Regions from separate parts of the Homo sapiens genome. Here region 1 is linked to region 2. The links are contacts of gene promoters, found by promoter capture Hi-C in human tissues and cell types (Jung and others, 2019). All regions are on one chromosome and are shown on one strand. The core of a region is centred on a gene start or on the middle of the fragment in contact, and the rest is flanking DNA. Distances in the headings are between cores, read along the strand shown.

The links. The method cuts DNA at HindIII sites, captures the fragments that hold promoters and counts their contacts. A contact is called where the count stands out against the background at its distance.
Region 1: a fragment that was not itself captured here is called in contact with the fragment with the promoter of VAT1L in region 2 in 1 of the 25 tissues and cell types used here (liver).

Annotation. Positions count from the first base shown.
Region 1 is chr16:77,731,019-77,737,263 of GRCh38, reverse strand. It overlaps NUDT7 (nudix hydrolase 7), which reads right to left. Exons shown (of 4, transcript NM_001105663.3): 3 at 1,278-1,436. Among named protein-coding and RNA genes, the nearest start is that of NUDT7, 12 kb to the right of the region's middle. The HindIII fragment of the contact is 7,499 bases long and covers 596-6,245 here.
Region 2 is chr16:77,786,751-77,793,428 of GRCh38, reverse strand. VAT1L (vesicle amine transport 1 like) reads right to left here and starts at 4,865. Exons shown (of 9, transcript NM_020927.3): 1 at 4,514-4,865. The coding sequence starts at 4,746. The region is part of intron 1 of LOC107984878 (a long non-coding RNA gene); the gene reads left to right. The HindIII fragment of the contact is 13,812 bases long and covers 996-6,678 here.

The sequences.
Region 1 (6,245 bases), core at 3,096-5,595, 56 kb after region 2:
CTAAGGAGACATGACCACAAAATACAATATGGTATCTTAGATGAGATCCAGGACAGAAAGGACATTAGTAGAAAAACTAGTAAAAAGCAAACAGAGCATGGAGTTCAGTTAACAGTAACATGCTGACACTGGTTTCTTTGTTGTGACAAATGTACACAGTGATGTAAGATGTCAACCACAGGGGAAACTAGGTCTATGGTCTAATTTCCTATAGTCTAGTTTCCTATGGTCTAGTTTCCTATGGTCTAGTTTCCTATGGTTTCCATGTGGTCATATGGAAACTAGGTCTACATAAGAACTCTCTGTACTACCTTCACGACTTTTCCATCAGCCTACAGCTATTCTGAAATTAAAATTAAAGGTTTTATTAAAACATTTATATGGTAAAATCATGCTGTTATCCAAGATCATACTTCTTAATACAATATTTACCCCTTCTAAAGTCAGTTAGTAAAACAATGAGGTTGTTGTGGTGAACCGATAGAAAGTAAGATCAGAAGCTGAGCACAGTGGTTCACACCTGTAATCCCAGCACTTTGGGAGGCTGAGGTGGGAGGATCACTTGAGGCCAGGAGCTCGAGACCAGCCTCATCAACATAGCGAGACCCCCATCTCTATAAAAAAAAAAATAAAAAAGAAAATAAGATGTGGTTATCTCAGCTCCAAAATTCATTTTTAAAAATATTTTAAATGTTTTGATGTATATTATACTATCAAGGAAATCCTGATCCAACACAAATGCAGTTATGAATAGTAATAGTTTTTAAATAGCTTGCCTAGTGATTTCACGGTTCTATTCAATTAATGTATCACAGAGAGGCTTTATTCTATAGTATGTAGAAAAATGAATATCCTTACGGCAGAAGTAATGCATTGGTGGTCTCCAAGGGGCTAAAATTTGGTATCTAGCACATTGGAGTGTCTGTTCTTTTTTCAACTGAACTCTCAAAACCAATGTATACTGGAGAAAAATAAATGTGAACTGAATGTTAATAATTCTGAAGCATCTCTCTAGGGTTCTATGGCATCCAGTTTGAAATCCACTGATGGGAGTTCAACCCTTTTATTTCTGGATGGGGAAAGAGGGGTCCGGAGAGGCAAAAGGGGTTGCCCATAGCCACTTGACTCATGAGGGGCAATGTCTGTAGGAGAACCTGTTCTCTTGACTTTATGTACAGTACTCTTTGGGGTTATGTTTGGAAAATGTGGAATCCTGAGAACAGTAGATCCACCTGGGGGTGGGGACGGTGCTCATGAGTGTCTCAGGAAACCCTTACATCAATAAGACATGGCACCAGGCAGCAGACAACTTCCACTTGGTGAGGACGGAGACCCACTTCCTCCTGGGCTTCCCGGAGAGCTGTGGCTGCATCATCCATGTCTGTAGGGTCACGCTTACCTCCAGGGAAGCAAACTTCTCCAGGGGCCCTTCTTAGCTGGATATAGAAAGAACAGCGCTACAATGTGGGATTCTAATTTTGGAACTATTTATGCATTCAACAAATACTTACTGGACTTCTATTTTGTACCAGAGACCATTCTTACCCAGGTGGTGGTATCAAGACCCCTATTGCCCACAAATGTGTTTTCTTGAATCCTTTTTAAGAAATGAACCTTGAAAATTTTTCTCACTGCTAACTTTTATTCTATTTGTCCCCAAAAGATACCACACACTGTATTAATCTGTTCTTGCACTGCTATAAATAAATAACTGAGACTGGGTAGTTTATAAAGAAAAGAGGTTTGGTTGGCTCACAGTCTCGCAGGCCGTACAGGGAGCATGATGCTGGCGTCTGCTTGGCTTCTGGGGAGACCTCAGGAAACTTACAATCATGGCGGAAGGTAAAGGAGGAGCAAGCACTTCACATGGCTGGAGCGGGAGACAGAGAGAGGGAGGGGAGGTGCTACACACTTTTAAACAACCTTATCTCGTGAGAACTCACTCACTATTGTGATGACAGTACCAAGGGGGAAATCCGCCCACGTGATCAAATCACCTCCCACCAGGCCCCAGGTCCAATATTGGGGTTTACGACTGAACATGAGATTTGGGTGGGGACAGGATCCAAACCATATCACACACACACAGATTGACACTGCTAGGGGGAAAAAGCTGAAAGAATAATGTAAGGGGCAATATTATCAACAGATAATTTTGTTGAGTCCTTTAATGGCTGCTTATTATGTTCTGGGCATGTTGTTTCATAAAGATTTTTCCCACTGGGTCCTCAGAACAGTCCTATAAGCTACTAATTTTTGAACGAGGTGAAATTCACATAAAAGTAACCATTTTAAAGTGAAAAAAAGCAGAGACGTTTAATACATTTACTGTGTTGTACAATCATCCCTACTATCTCATTCCAGAATATTTTCATCATCCCAGAAGGAAACCCCATACAACAGTTGATTCTCATTCCCCTCTCCCTCTGTCCCTGCTTTCTGTCTCTGTGGATTTACCTAGTCTCGACTTTTGTGTCTGGCATTTTTCCCTTCACATATGTTTTTGAGGTTCTTCATGTTCTACGTGTATTGGTACTTCCTTTTTTATGGCTGAATAGTATTCTATTGTGTGTATAGATCACAGTTTGTTTATCCACTCATGCATTGATGGGCAGGTAAGCTACTCTTTTCTTTTCTTTTTTGACATGGAGTCCCGCTCTGTGTCCCACGCTGGAGTGCAGTGTGCGAACTCGGCTCACTGCAAGCCTTGCCTCCTGGGTTCACACCATTCTCCTGCCTCAGCTTCCTGAGTAGCTGGGACTACAGGTGCCCACCAGCATGCCCGGCTAATTTTTTGTATTTTTAGTAGAGACGGGGTTTCACCATGTTAGCCAGACTGGTCTCGATCTTCTGACCTCGTGATCTGCCCTCCTCGGCCTCCCAAAGTGCTGGCATTACAGGCGTGAGCCACCGCACCCAGCCATAAGCTACTCTTATACTATTATTATTTCCATTTTCAGACAAAGGAACTTAGGCTCACAGAGGTTAAATAACCTGACCAAGTTCACTCAGTGAGCTGGAATATAAACCAGTGTTTAATTTACGAGCCTGTGTTTTTAATCAGTACAACACACATTTATCAAAAGTTTAGTAAGACACAAAAAATATAGGCCCTGGAGCTATTAGCATTGTGTTGGCATCTATGTTTATCTTTGCGTGTGTTGGTAAAGGAAAAGAGGTCTCCTCTTTCCCCGCATTGCCCCCTTCCTTGATTCCATTCCTTCCTGCCTTTAGGAGAACTGACAGTGTCTCTATAGCATCCTAAAATTACCCCCTTTCTTATCTCTGTCTTTAAAATTATTTCTCTCATATCTTGGGCAGAAGTGGAGAGGCACAAACCCTCCACTGTTCTCTCTTCTGCAGGGCCAAATATCTCAGCAGAGTGACCTCAATTTCTTTTATGCCCACTTGTGCCTAGTACCCACTATCCTTTCTCTCCTGAATTGTCAAGGAGCCCTCAGGCTCAGCAAGAGTCCTGGGTCTGCCTCTTTCCAACTGTGTGCAATGGGGTAATGACAGTGTGCTCCTCACAGAGCTGTGAAGATTGTTCCATGAGGATGGAGCGGATGCACGGGAATGGTGCGTGGCCACATTAAATATTTAATAATGAGAACTTGTAAGGTCAGTCCTGGACATTGAGAAGCTCAATCAAGAGATCATGTTGCCATTTTTAGCACCTAGGCCATATATCTATGTAAGGATAAACTAGATGCCTGCAATGGCCTGAATGTTTATTCTCCCATGAATCCATATGTTGAAATCCTTACCCCTAAGGTGATGGTATTAGGAGGTGGGATCTTTGGGAGGTGTTTAGGTCATGGGGGCAGAGCCCTCATCAATGAGATGAATGCCCTTATAAAAGAGACCAGAGACAGACTCTTTGCCCCTTTCCCTGTAAGGACACTGAAAGGATGACTATCTATGAACTGAAACAGGGCCCTCACCAGACTCCAAATCTTCTGGCAGCTTGATCTTGGACTTCCCAGCCTCCAGAACTGTGAGAATTAGTATCTGTTGTTTATAAGCCACCCAGTCTAAGGTGTTTTGTTATAGCAGCTTGAGAGGACTATGACAATGCCATGATAAACTTTTTGATATTTTATAGGCTTCAGCCTCATTTGGGCAAGACTTAAAAATTTTTTTTTAAGTCCTTCTGTGCTGATAAATCAGGAACACTGCAGAAATTGCTGCCATAGCTAAATCCTTAGACATCTTCACATCAATTACAGTTGTAAAAACAGGTGAAAAGAAGGCTGATGGACATATTTCTACTGTCTTGAACACTCACCAGCGACTGCAAATATGTCTTACCAAATGCGTAAGAAATACACCTAATGTTACAGCAACTCTGAAACAGTGCTTTATTGTTAGAACGTTCAACTCCAAGGCAGCCAGGGACAAACGCACCTCCAAGCAGTCATCAGGCTTGACAGAAACAGACCTGATATGATGCCTGTTTTAAATGTACAGTCACGTGTTACTCAACAACAGGGACACGTTCTGAAAAATGCATTAGGCGATTTCATCATCGTGTAAACAACACAGGGTGCACTTGCACAAACCTGGATAATATAGACTACTATAAACCTAGGCTATATGGTGTAGCTACTGCTTCTGGGTTACAACCTGTATACCATTTTACTGTCCTGGATATTGCAGGCAATAGTAACATAATGGTAAGTATTTGTGCATCTAAACACGGAAAAGGTACAGTAAAAATATGGTATAAAAGATCAAAAATGGTTCACCAGTATGGGGCATTTACCATAAATGGAGCTTGCAGGACTGAAAGCTGCTCTGTGTGAGTCAGTGAATGAGTGGGTGGTGAGTGGATGTGAAGGCTTAGGACATTAAACACTGCTCTAGACTTCATAAATACTAGACACTTAGGCTATAGTATGTTTATAAAAATATTTTTCTTTTTCTTTTTTTTTTTTGAGACGTGTTCTCGTCTGTCGACCAGGCTGGAGTGCAGTGATGGGATCTCAGCTCACTGCAGCCTCTGACTCCTGAGTTCAAGTGATTCTCCTGCCTCAGCCTCCCAAGTAACTGGAATTACAGGCACCCGCCAGCATGCCTGGCTAATTTTTGTATTTTTAGTAGAGATGAGGTTTGGCCATGTTGGCCAGGCTGGTCTCGAACTCCTGACCTCAGATGGTTCCCTCCACCTTGGCCTCCCAAAGTGCTGGGATTACAGGTATAAGCCACCACCCCCCGGCCTTTTTCTTTTTTAAATAATAAATTAACTGTAGCTTACTATTACTTCTTACTTTCTAAACTTTTTAATTTTTAATTTTTTGACTCTTTTGTAATAACACTTAGCTTAAAACACAAATACATTACACAGCTATACAAAATATTTTCATTATATCCTTATTCTAGAAGCTTTTTTCTATTTTTAAGGATTTTTTTTTCTTTTTAAACTTTCTTGCTAAAAACTAAGATACAACACACAGAATAATCAATATCACTGTCTTCTACCTCTACCTCTTGTCCCACTGGAAGGTCTTCAGGGGCAACAATAACATACATGGAGCTCTCATCTCCTACAATAACAATGCCTGTGTTTTTTGGAATATCTCCTGAAGGACCTTACTAAGGCTGCTTTATAGTTATTTTTAAAAAATAAGTAGAAGAAGAACACTCTAAAATAATGATTTAAAAGAATAGTGTAGTAAATTTCATAAACCAGAAATGTCATTTTTTATCATTATCAAGTATTATATATTGTGCATAATTGTATGTGCTACACTTTTAGACCACTGGCAACACAGTAGGTTTGTTTACACCAGCATCACCACAAACATGTGAGTAATGTCTTGTGCTATGACATTATGACTGCTATGATGTCAGTTGGTGATAGGAATTTTCAGCTCCATTATCATCTTTTGGGGCCACCATTGTATATATGGTCCATGGTCCATCATTGATGGAAAAACAGTTTTGCAGCACATGACTGTATTTTGAAAGGTTTCAAAAGTATCTCATAGCATACCAATTTTATTCAATTTGCCTTGTACACCTATTCCAATTAATAGGTAATAGGAATTGGAAAAGATCATTTTGGATTAGTGAGAACATTGCTCTCAAGAAAATGTTATCCTTGAGCTGGGCAATGATTTTTAAAATATGACCCCAAAAGCACAGGCAATGAAAGCAAAAATAAAACATGGGGTTACTTCAACTAAAAAGCTTTTGCACAGCTAAGGAAACACTCAACAGAATGAAAAGACAATCTGTGGAAT
Region 2 (6,678 bases), core at 3,616-6,115:
CTAAGACAGTTCCAGTTTATGATTGTAGCTTCTCCTATGTAGGAGTAATTATAAATAGTGCCCCTTCTGCTTTCAGAAGAGGTTCAGTTTGTTTGAAACCAGCCTGAGCAACATAGACTCTGTCTCGACAAAAAATAAATTAAAAAAAAATTAGCTGGGCACGGTGGCACATGCCTGTGGTCCCAGCTATGCAGGAAGTCAAGGCAGGAGGATCACTTGAGCCAGGGAGATCAAGGTGGCAGTGAACCATGATCACACCACTGCACTTCACCTTGCGTGACAGAGCAAGACCCTGTCTCAAAATATAAGAGTTCCAGTTTGAATAATAAACTATATAAGTATCTATGGCAACCAAAAGTAAAAGTTTACATAATAATGGTTACCATTTTTTGACTACTTGCTATGCCTGTCTCAAAATACAAGAGTTCCAGTTTGAATAATAAACTAAAGTTTATACGGCAACCAAAAGTAAAAGTTTAGATAATAATGGTTATCATTTTTTGACTGCTTGCTAAGCACCAGGCATCCTTATAAAGGTCTTTGTATATGGCATGTCATTTAAGCTTCATTACAATACTATGAAGGGGGATGCTATTATAAAATGGATGCTCTATTTTATAGTCCGGGAAACAGAAGTTTGTTAACATGTTTTTAACAACAACATGGCCAAGGCCAACCAGAAGGCGTGGTTTGTACCTCACCCAGATCCTGTCTATGGGCAGGTGCCCATCCCCAAACTGCTGGAAGTGTTGGATGCTCAAGCCTCAGAGTCATCCCTTTCCCTAGAGAATTTTGCTCAGTCAGATAGAAGCCACTTCTGCTTGAGAGGCTCAATGTCCCCACTTAGAAAGTAGCTCACAGCCAATGACACACAAGGCTCCCTCTGTTCCTTGCTTCAAGGTGAGACTGACTCTGCAGTGGGATCCAGCTAAGACCACATCTTTGCTTAACTCCTTCCTCTTCCCTAGCCTGCTTCCCTTGCTCCCATAGTTCTAAAAGCACACTTTCAATAAACCACCTGAAAAAGGATCCCTGCGTCAGGTTCTGCCTCCAAGGAGCCAGACCTAAGACATCCAGTTAGCAAGTATCAGAGCTGGGACTCATGTCTAGGAAGCTCTCTTAATCACTAAGCAGATGTGACATGATATTGCCTATATTATATACATGATTAAAATGATGGCCTCCAAGTTGTAGGTCACCAAGCAGCATATATCACATTGGTTTAGATATGGCAACAACGACAGTCACAATGAATCCTACTTATTGAATGCTGACAACGCGGCAGTGTCTTTCTTGCATCTGATCCTTTCAACAATACCATGAAGTTCATTTTATTATCCCCACTTTGCAGATAATGTATGGGAAGTTTGGAGACACTGAGACACATCCCCCAGGGGCATATGGATAGGAAGAGATGAGGCTTAAGCTTATATTCAAGTCCCTCTCTCTTCAAGGGCCACATGCTTTTTCCACCTGGTCACTTAAACCTCTTGTTGCGTAAAGTATTCCATGAATAATTGGTGAAATCCATCTGCCATCAAAACTGACATTTTAAAAAACAATTTAGACAGAAGACTCTGCTATCATTCCAACCCTGACCCCAGCAACAGTTCTTTTTGAGCTGCATTTGACCAAAATGTCTCTACTTTCTGGAGAAAGCCATACTACTTTGGAAATAGCTAGAGAATATTCTCTTAAGCCAGACACAAAAAGAGCAAAGGAACCATCTTCGGTGGAGAAAGGAAAGAAAGTGAGACTGCATGCTAAGAGGGGAATCACATGTGCTAAGGCTTTTCCACCAAGGGAGACAAAAATGGAATAAAAGGAAAATAGCAAAAATATAAGGAGAATTAGATTCAAATCCTAAGTCTACTATTTTTTGATGTTTTTGGCAAATTACTCAATGTTTCCAAGCCTCAATTTGCTCTTCTGTTCTGTAGGAAAAATACCCATCTCACTGGCGCATTAATGAAAAAGGGTCCATGATATAAAATGGATATTTCTTCCTGCCTCATCTCTTCCATTTTCATAAAATTCATAGCCAACTTGGAACGTCATTCCAGGTCTGTCTAATACTGGTTCAAATGGACTATGCTTTATTCCAAGCAAAAAGCATATCCTATTATGACAAAAAGGTTTCTATTAAAAATAGAGAGCAGATAAAAGGGAGACCATCATCCAGGAAGCCATCGGCTGATTCATAAAAATACAGAATGAGTCATCCTGTATCCCAAGGCTAAAACTTATAATCAATGATCATGTCTGGCCAGCCAATCCCAGCCCAGAGGAGAAGGAGCTGCCCAGTGGGCCATTTACAAGCCTATTACAATCCTTCCTTGTAAAACCATTAACTCTGCTTCCAGCTTGGTGAAAGGAAAATCAATCTGGGCTGTTTGCAACACTGTATTCCAAATGTACCTGCAGCCTGGTTGGCTTTCTGAACAACTAGGGTCGGGGAAGTGCAGTGATTTCTGTGTGTGTGTGTGTAGCGCCACTGAAGAACAGGCTTTCACATCTGGCTTTGAAAATCAATCTCTTGGCCTTCATCTTGACATTTATTATTTCAAAATGCTTCAGTTCCTATCAGCAATTATGCAGTTAACATAAGACTGGAAAACACAGAACTATGTGTACTGCAGATGATGCTCTTTCCTTTAAAAAGTAGTTTTATCATTTTCCCTCTCTGAATATGTACTCTAGAATCCTAGAATCCCATCCTCAATTTGGATGAAGGGTCATAAATTACATACGCATACATATGCAACTGTATATATAATTGTATATATGTATATGCACATATATGCATAGGTGTGTGTATACAGGTAATTTTTTTTGATGAAGTGGTTAAGGAAGGAGAGTTCTAAATGCATGGTTTTAATTGTACTAAGCAAAAGCTCTTCCACCAGCAAGTAAAGAAAAATAATGACCCAACAATCCTCCTCCGAGCTCTTTCCTCAATCCATTCATTCAGCGATAACTTATTTAGGATGTGCAGTGGGCCAAACAGTGTGGGGTGGGGGAGTGGGCTGGTCTTTGGGGATTTAGCTGCGAAAGGGCAGATATAAGCTCTCCTTCTGGGATCAAACAACTTGGTTCAATAAGAGTTTATTGTACAGGATCCCCCGGTTTGCAAAAGCCTCTTCCCTTACCCGGAATTCCCCACAGAGACTCACGAGTCGTGTTCAGAGTCAAACCTGACCAGCTGCATATATGAGCAGCAAGGCAGGGATCAGCGGCTGCTTCTCCCACTAGCTGCTTTCTAATCTGGCCGATGAAACCTGCGTCTGTTCTCAAGGTGGTGAACGGGAGGGGACCCTCGTTTGTATTTCTCGTGCCTCTAGAGAGGTCCAGATATTGGGTTTCTGATCTAACCTAGAAGCTCGTGAGCTGGCTGCTGCTTTGGAGAGCAGTATGTACTGGGGGGCTCTAGAAAACAGATGGGAAGGAATAGGCTCGTCTCACCGTGATTAATAGCAAGTTCCCCTTACAAGTTTAACATGCAAACCTAGTGTTGGGTCCAGTCCGCCTCTGCTGGGTAAGCTCTTCCCAGAACTTCAGGGAAATTACAGTGCCCGCACACAGAGAGGCTTAAACTCTCCCCGGGAATTTCAGCTGAGCGTGAGGGCCTGGAGAAGTTCCCCCAGGGGGAATGGGGAATAGAGGGCAGCTTAGAGAGCTGAGCTCCTTCTGAGATGGGACCAGGAATTCCGGGGAGACTGATCAGGGTTTTTTCCCCTCTCGGAGAAACAGAGGATGGAGAGGGGCATGGAGGGGGTTGCGCTGCAGCCCTGGTCTCCACCCTCACCAAGCCTGGGTGCAAGGTACCGACCCTCTTCCTTCCTAGTTCCTTTCCCCGTCAGGCTACGGGGAAGGAAGTGGGCAGGAGGCGGGATCCAGCCCTGCACCCTGTCCCAGGCCCTTCAGGACAACAGCATAGAGGTGAAAAAAGATCATGTATCAAATTCCCGGCCAAGCCACTTAGTGGCAGCTGACTGATCTTGGGCAAATCACTCATTCTCGCTGAGCGGCGGCTTTCTTACCTGTAAACGGATCATGATGGCACCTGACTCATTAGGTCCCAGGAAGTATTAAATAAGATCGCACGTGTAAAACTACCAACGGCGGCTGGCACACAGTGGGCTTGCGGTTCTTAATACATATATTTTTAATTCTGTTAAGCATCAACCCTCCCGTGCGAAAGCTGAGTTGTCCTCTCAGACGGAGAACTCCCGTAGCGCAATCTTCCAGACCCGGGGTGCCTGGGCGCCAGCATTCTCCCCGCGCCCAGGAGCTCACATTCTCCTCCCGTCACCCCTAGATCTGGCTTGGGGAGGCCGCCCCTCTGCATCCTCCCCAGCTTTGGCCCGGGGAGGCTCTGAGACCCGGGTGAGGGCGCGGAGGGGGTGCGCGCGGCGGTTCTACCCGGGCAGCATCCCAGCCGCAGCTTTCCCACCCCCTCCCCAGCGCCCAGCGCGCAAAAAGAGAGAAAGCGAGAAAGGCGCGGATACTGGACCAGGCTTTGACGCGGATCTTGAGCTCGCCGTCCTGAGGCTCGGGCATGGCCTTCCTGAAGAGCCGCAGCTTGTTGAGCCCCCCGAAGCCAGCCAGCACCACCGCGCGCATCTCCTGGGCGTCCCCGAGGCGGTGCGAGCCGTCGCCGCCGCCGCCCTCCGCCGGCTCCTTGCCTGCCTCCTTCTCGATCATTTGCTCCGTCTCCTCCGCCTTCTCCACGCCTTCCTTGGCCATGGCGCTCGAGGGCGCGGGGCGCACGGGCTGCGGTGGCTGCGGTGGCTGCGGCGCTGGGGGAGTGGGGCTCCTCTCCCGCGGGTTCCTCCTGTTGAATGTGGGATGCTCGGCTGTGCAATGGCTGCAGCCTCTGCGAGCGCCGCCGCGGTCCACAGCCTCCGCCGTAATCCTCACAAGAGCCGTGCCCTAAGCGCTTCACCCCCGCCCCACCCTTCTTTCCTGTCCCAACGAAGCCTCAACTCCAGTTCCTGAAATAGTCCCAAGTTAGGGTCGGGATCGCGGCCCTAAACCCAAATTTGCCGAAGATCTGTGACTAAAACGAGCCTAGAGAGACCACCCTGTCATCCCCCTTCCTGTGGGCCCAGTACTTGGTTATATACGGCACAGGCTCGGGTGCCTTGAAATGGACCGAGACTAATGTCTGGGCCTGGAGGATGCCTTACCGCGACAAGGTTGCCCTCTCTCCCTCCCATCTTCGAGGCTGGGCGGGATAGTCGGGAAATTGGGTCGTTTCTCAAACAGCCAGTTTTGGGTGGAAGGGCGGAGAGGTTTGGGAAGCAGGGAACTAGAGATCCCGCTCACTGCCCTGAAGAGTCCAGTGCAGGGTCTTTTCACTCCAGACCTGCAGGGTCAGCCGGGATGCTCTTTGCTGGGTATCACCAGGGGCTTCCTTACGACGGCGAATTCTCACCACCCACACCATTTCGGGCTATTAAAGAGGCTTCAGACAAGAATCCTGTACCAGAAAGGATCCTGTTCGTGTTCTGATCCCCGGAAGACCAGTGTGTACCCGCTCCCCAACATGCATGCACATACACAGAGTAGTAACTGGCGTTTTGTTTTGTTATCAGGCTCTTTGAGAAAAACAGCTCATAGAAAAACTTGGAATTTCTGAAATAAAATAATGGGGAAGGACGTGGTTTTCCTAGGGGCAGTTTAAGGAAAGAGATGCAGGTGAGGAAGTAGGTCTATATTCTATTATAGTTGCTATGCCATTGCCAGCCTTGAGATCTTGGGCAACTCATTCAACCTTCCTGAGCCTCAACACACTCATCTATAAATTGGGTACATTGATTTTTTTTTCTATATTGTGTGAAGTGCTGGGGTGGACATGATTTCAGTGAGACATGGTCCTTATATTGGAAAAGGTCAATTTCAGAGCATGAGGCATGAAGGACACAGTCAACAAATGTGGTACAATGAATGATGTAAGTGCTGCCTCTTCTCTCCCCTCATTCTTCCTGTGCCTCACTGCTTTAAATGCCCTTGTCTTCTATTCCTTAAAAAAAAAAAAAAAAAAAAAAAAGACGATTGCCATTTTCCCTCCTTCCACAGGGTTCTGCACCTGCTGTCCCCTTGGCCTGGGGTATGTGTTCCATCTCCTTTATCTGGTGTTAACTCCTACTTCGTTCTCACCTCAAGGGTCCATTCCTGTTGGGAGGCACTCCAACCTCCAGATTGGTGTCCTCCCTGACTATAGACACTTATGTCCCTTTGTAGCCAACTTTTATATGTTTACCTGATAATATCTGTTTCCTTTATCCAACTGTGAACTTCATGTGAGCAGGAGCTATTTCTACTTTTATCCAGCGTGGTTTTCCCAGGGCTTAATACATGATTGGTACATAGTAGAATATGCACAGAGGCAGCCTGTTGAAAAACTGGTCCAGAGAGTTGGAGAAGTTCTCATGGAGGAGGGAACATTTGGGCTAGACCTTGAAGGATAAGGCAGGTTCTTCTGGCAGAAAAGGTCGCAAGCTCATTCAAATAACACAGAAAGGTAACAGGTAAAAGGGCTTTTGAGATTCTGGTTTGTTCTATGTAGGCAGAACATTGGCTGTATTTAGCAATCATTGGAGATGAGGCTGAAAGGTTTATTGGGACCAGCTTTTGAAAGTTCTCACATACCAGGTTATAAAATTTAAGACATAA